Regions from separate parts of the Homo sapiens genome. Here region 1 is linked to region 2. Evidence: promoter capture Hi-C in human tissues and cell types (Jung and others, 2019). All regions are on one chromosome and are shown on one strand. The core of a region is centred on a gene start or on the middle of the fragment in contact, and the rest is flanking DNA. Distances in the headings are between cores, read along the strand shown.

The links. The method cuts DNA at HindIII sites, captures the fragments that hold promoters and counts their contacts. A contact is called where the count stands out against the background at its distance.
Region 1: a contact is called between a fragment that was not itself captured here and the fragment with the promoter of MMP17 in region 2, in 4 of the 25 tissues and cell types used here (dorsolateral prefrontal cortex, pancreas, spleen and 1 more).

The regions. Positions count from the first base shown.
Region 1 is chr12:132,074,411-132,077,501 of GRCh38, forward strand. It overlaps EP400 (E1A binding protein p400), which reads left to right. Exons shown (of 53, transcript NM_015409.5): 52 at 2,106-2,183; 53 at 2,991-3,091. Among named protein-coding and RNA genes, the nearest start is that of SNORA49, 45 kb to the left of the region's middle. The HindIII fragment of the contact is 6,004 bases long and covers 1-3,091 here.
Region 2 is chr12:131,827,028-131,829,881 of GRCh38, forward strand. It overlaps MMP17 (matrix metallopeptidase 17), which reads left to right and starts at 1,366. Exons shown (of 10, transcript NM_016155.7): 1 at 1,366-1,626. The coding sequence starts at 1,468. RefSeq lists a silencer at 1,231-1,360. The HindIII fragment of the contact is 32,715 bases long and covers 1-2,854 here.

The DNA of each region.
Region 1 (3,091 bases), core at 354-2,853, 250 kb after region 2:
TCTGCCTGTTACTGAGACGTTGTCTTTGTCTTTGTTGTTCTGGGTCACCTCTCTCCCCCACTGTCTGCCTGTTATCGAGACGTTGTCTTTGTCTTTGTTGTTTTGCAGTTTCATTCCAATGCTCCAGCTTCTTGAATCTCGGGCAGTCTCTCTCATGTCTTTAGGAAATAAGCAGCCACTGTTTGTTTACGTGTTGCCCCTGTCCTGCTTCCTCTGCCCTCCAGGTCTCTCAGCAGCTTTTGTATTTTCTGTGTCTTTGTCTCGTCGTACTATATTCTGAGTCATGTCTTTCGCTCTGTCTCCTCAGTCACTCATTTTTCCCTTGGTTAAGTCAAATCTGCTTCAAAGCTTGTCTGTTGAATTTTTATCTTGATGATTTATTATTTTATTTTCAGAAGTTCCCAAATAATGCCTGGTCTTTGTTTATAGTCTCTTGTTTCCAGGCCTCGCAGAGTGAGTGAGGTGTTTTTCTGGATCTGGTGATTTCCCTGTCTGAAATGTGCTGCATCTGCGGGGACCCCTCGCAGCCTGGGGCAAAGGTGGAGTTTTGCTTCCGCGGGCACCTTCAGGTGCCACAGGAACACTGCTTGGTGTGTGGCTCAGGCTTTCACTCAGCTCTCAGGTGTTACCCACCTGGCCTCTGAATCTGTGTCTCCTCCTCTCTCCTCCCCGGCACTGAGGCTTAGGGCAGGTGCTTTTCTTACAGATGCCACTGGAGGAAGGGGATGCTTTCTTTGCAGCCTTTGGGTACCTTTGTGGGTACAGTGTCTCCCTCCAGGATGGCAGCTGGCAGTAGCACGGGGCTCTTTTGCAAGCTCCCCACCGAGAACTGGCCTATACCTGGTGTCTGGTCAGCTGTGTCCTGTGCGACCCTGGAGATCACGGGGTGCGTCTCCATGTGGCCAGCGATCCCGGGCAGAGGTTGTGCAGCTTTTCTGCTCCGTGACTCGTGATGCCCGCCTGTGCTTAGGTTTGGAGACTGGCAGTTCCTGACTCTTTGCAGGTTTCTTGGTACATTTAAGATTTCTTGCTAGTGCTTTATTTAAGACGTCTCAGGATTTTCAGTGCTGTGCCAAGTAAGTCCTGGACCATTGTGGTCTTGAGATGGGCCCTGGAGCACCGGCTGCATCTTTGTTTCCCAGCAGTTCCACAGGGGGCGCTCAGGGCACTTATCTTAGTGAATTTTATTTATAATTGTTTAAGTGACAGTAAACTAGTAAATGCCTTCTGATTGATTTTAATTTTAGTAAGGACTAACATTTATTTCGACCTTTGTTCATGTGTGAGTAAATCATGTAATTTCACATATTTCGCAGAATAATCTTGGGAAATATTATTTTCATCCGTTTTCTGTAAGTAACAGGACCCAGCAAGAGACCAGGGTCCGTGAGGGCCTTGTGCAGGGAGGGCCCTTGAAATCAGGGCCCCCAGCAGCTGCCCACGCTGGAGCCTCTCTTGTGTTCTGGGTGCACGCCATGACGGTGCTGATAGGACACACAGGTGGCCCAGAGCCTCTTACTACGTCAAGACAGCGGGAGATGCATGCAGTAGCAAGTGCACAGAAAGTGGGCACTGGGTGGAAAGTGTTGCTTTATAAATAGCCAGATCTCAATCATGACTAAGAAGAATGTAGAAAAATGATAAAATTACCAGCCTCAAAACCTTGGTGCGTCACCGGGTTCCCCACTTCAGCTGGCTGCCCTAGCTGCACTGTACAGCTCATTACTGGAACGTCGTCCAGGCCTGTCATATGCAGAGCCCTTGGGACTCACAAGACGCTCAAATACTTACCATCCTCAGTCTGATTCTTTCATATAAACTTGCAGTCGTTTTTGTGAAAAGAAAAAATGTGTCTGAAATATGAGACCAAAAATAAGCTTAAATGATGAGTGATGGCAAATTGGGGAGGCAGTCAGTTGACTCACCATGCAGTGGAACGACTTGCTCTCTCACTGCTGCAGGTGGGCACACTACGAGAATTGCTCTTCTGTGTCACCTGGTCATTGTGTTTTTTGCATTAACTGAGGACAGAAAGGGAGGAAAAATCTCTTTTTGTGCACATACTCCTTTGAATTGTATGTTTGGCTTTTTTTGTTTTGTCAAAGGTTGCAAAACTTCCTCAAGTTGTTCAACAGCAAACACCCGTGGCCAGCATCCAGCAAGTTGCCTCTGCTTCCCAGCAGGTAGGACGCATAGACAAAGTGGAAACCTCACATTTCCCAGGTCAGAGAATGGGTTGTTTTCATCTGAGGTCATGATTAGGGAATCACTTTTGATTTTTGTGATACACACAAAAACATTAACTTCAGGGGAAAAACTAGATACACTTAATAATGAGAAGAGTGAACAAGCGTTTAGAGGTTGTGTCAGCCATACTGAGGGAGCCTCACCTTGGGCTCATTCCCAGGACCCTTCATTCACTGATCATCGCGGGTGTGTCCTGCAAGTCGCAGACACTGCCCTGTGGTTTTAGGGAGGCACAGGCCTCAGGCAAGCAGGCTCCGCTCGGGGCCCGCCCTTGAGCAGAGGCGCTGTGGGCACAGTGGCCTTGCCTCCCACAGAAGCCCTTCAGGCGCTTTCACTGTTGTCACTGATGCTCCACAATATGACTCTTTAGCACAGTGCTTTAAATGTAAAGCGGTGCTTTAAACTTTCTAAATTTTGTTTAAAGTCACACTGGCATATAGATTTCAAGAAACCAAACTCTATTAAAAGCTTTACTACAACAACAAAATCAGTCCCTGACCCAGCTCTCACCCTTTTCCCAAGAGGCATCTGGTGTTAGTCTAAAAGCAACCATCTTTTAATTTTCCACTTGTGTTTAATTGGAAACCAGAGGTCATACTGTTGTGTGACTGGTCATTCTTCCGTGTCATAAAAGCATAGTCAGTGAAGTTTCTCGAGTCCTCCCCATCCCAAAGAACGTCCATTTTCCTGTCCCTGGACTGAGTTTCCTGGGCAATGTGTGTTTTCTGACTCTCTCGGCTCAGGCTTCTCCACAGACTGTGGCGCTCACGCAGGCGACGGCGGCCGGGCAGCAGGTGCAGATGATCCCTGCAGTGACCGCGACTGCCCAGGTGGTTCAGCAGAA
Region 2 (2,854 bases), core at 116-2,615:
AATTAGCTGGGCACGGTTGTGCACGCTTGAAATCCCATCTACTCAGGAGGCTGAGACAGGAGAATCATTTGAATTTAGGAAGCAGAAATTACAGTGAGCCAAGATCGTGCCACTGCACTCCAGCCTGGGCAACAGAGCAAAAAAAAAAAAAAGAAAGAAAGAAAAAACAATCCGGGATGTCCTGTGAAAGTCCCCACCTCCTACAGGTGATCCCATCAGTCCGAACCAAGGTCATCTGAAGCAGGTGTGGAATCACCCTGTTCAGACCGGGCCAGGGAGGCTCTGAGGGCAGCAGGGACAGGATGGGCCAGAGTACCCAGGGAAGCGGGGGGGGGGGGGGGGGGGTGGTTGGGGGGAGTCGGCCCTCACAGGAGGGGAGGGGCACCACTTCCCTGAGACCAGTTCTGGTAAAAGGGGCCGAGCCTCAGTTTCCCTGTCCGTAGAATGAGACCTCAGTCCTGACAGTACCAGCTGCGATTTGGGGTGGTGGAGCAGGAGGGCCTGGGAAGGAGGGGAAGCCATGCTGTCCAGCACGAGGAGAAGCTGAATAAAGGCAAGGGTTACCCTTGAACCTCACCCCCTGCCCTCTCCCAAGATCTCCCACTCGGTGGGCAGCCTGTACGCAACTTGCACGAGTTCAATCCACACAAGCGCCTGCTCGGGCTCTGACCCTGGCTCTGCCGCTTGCCCGCTCCAGGACCTCCCATAAGTTACTTCATTTCTTTGGGCCTCAGTTTCTTTGTCTGCGAAATGGAAATCATAGTTTTCATCTCATAAATGTTGTAAGTAAATGAAATTATTTATGTAACTCCTGGGCATGTGCCAGGCACACGCTGCGCTCCAACAAACATTACAAGTTAACATTCTCGCTCCCAGGCCCGCAGGGACCGCAGAGCCTCCGCCGAGGACCCCAGCCCCCCCAACACCCGCCCTCGCCCTCCAGTCCCCCGCGCCCCCCAAGCCCCACCCTCCCTCTCCCGCGGTCCGCGGGCTCCACCAAGCGCCCACCTGCTGCGCTGCGGCGGCGGCTCCGGGGCCTGAACCCGGGTCTGAACCCGGGCCTCGGCGCCGTGGGGGGTGGACCCGGGAGCGCGGCCGGAGAGGGGAGTCAGGGTCAGCTCCCCGCAGGCGCCCCGACCCCCGCCTCCGCGCCCATCCCGCGCGTCCCCGCCGCCCCAAGAGCGTCCTAAGACACCCGGGGAAACGCCTTCCCTGTGATGCCGCGGACCCAGTCCCGTCGCGGACACGGCGGGGCGGGCGGGGGTGGCAGCGTCCGAGGCGGCGCGGGCCCTTTAAGGCGGCCGGCCTCGTTAGCATACATTTGCATGGCCCCGCCCCGCCGCTTGAGGCTGCCGCGCGGGGCTCAGTCCGGCGGGGGCGCCGCGGAGAGCGGAGGGCGCCGGGCTGCGGAACGCGAAGCGGAGGGCGCGGGACCCTGCACGCCGCCCGCGGGCCCATGTGAGCGCCATGCGGCGCCGCGCAGCCCGGGGACCCGGCCCGCCGCCCCCAGGGCCCGGACTCTCGCGGCTGCCGCTGCCGCTGCTGCTGCTGCTGGCGCTGGGGACCCGCGGGGGCTGCGCCGCGCCCGCACCCGCGCCGCGCGCCGAGGACCTCAGCCTGGGAGTGGTGAGCGCGCGGGCGGGACGGGCGCGGAGCTCCTGGGCCGGAGCCGGGGGTCTCCGCGGGCCGGGTGGCGGGGACCGGGAAGACCCCAGCAGTGCACGTCGGCGTCGCGCGGGAGCCCTGGCGCCCTGGACCCATTTCCTGGGTGGGGAGACTGAGGCAGGGACGCGGGCTGAGCGACCGGGCGAGCGCACGCGAGTCCTGGGGAGGCGCCGGCTGCCGTCCCGGCTCCGTGCGCTGGGAGCGCGCCGCAGCCGCAGGAGCCCGTGGAGTTGTGAGGGGGTCGCCCACCCGGAGCCCGGGTCGCCGGCTTGCAGCAGCCCCGGAGCAGCCGGGCTGGGCGAGAGCAGGCATCGCGGCCGCCCCGAGCTCTGCGCGCTGCGTGCGTTCCGGGTGGGAGTGGCGGGGGCAGGAGCACGCACCCACAAAGCGAGGAAGGGCAGGGGCTACGGAGTGGGGGCACCCCGAAAGCCTTGAGCCCCCGAGTTTGCTCGGTTGAGGGTGTTGGGGGCACAGGGATGCTGGCCCCCAGCTCCCCACTGGACAAGGACCTGGCCCTCAGCCTCCTTCCCCTCCACCCCAGGTCGGCCAGGCTGGCCCTGCCTTGCCCTGGTACAGTGCTGAGCCGGGGGCGCGGGGAGAGCCTTCCTCACTCCACACCCAGTAGCTGTCCCCAGCTCAGCTTAGAAACCCTGCCTGGGGGCAGCGACGTGGCCTCTTCCTACAGCCCCCTCCCCTGTTCCGCAGCCGGGACTCGCGTCTCCTGTGGACCCGGAAGATTTAGAGCACACGTCGTGGGGTCAGCGCCCCCCCGCTGGGGCGGCCGGGTGAACTCCCGCTGGGTTCGTTGGTTCCTTCTGAGGCTCCTGCCCCACCGCTGCCTTCAATGGACTCCTACCCAGGGAGTCGGGCCAGGAGCCGAGGCCTCCCCGCCCCACACAAGTACTCGGCCTGGCCCTCGTCCGCGGACAGTCTCCCAGTGGGGTCCTGGCAGGGCCCCTCGCCCAGCGCAGTGGACATTCAGGAGCTCCAAAACCTTGGGGTCCAAGCAAGTCAGCGCAGGTGTATTTCAGGCAGTCGAGGCATATGGAGGGGCCACTTGGGTGGCACCCGCAGCCCCTGTGGTTGGCAGGACTTGGCCAGGGGGTCTGGATGGGAAGCCGATTTGGCCACCGTTTGCCCCAGGCCCCGAAGCCATCTGGGAGGGTGCTGGCCACTGTCCCTGCTGCCC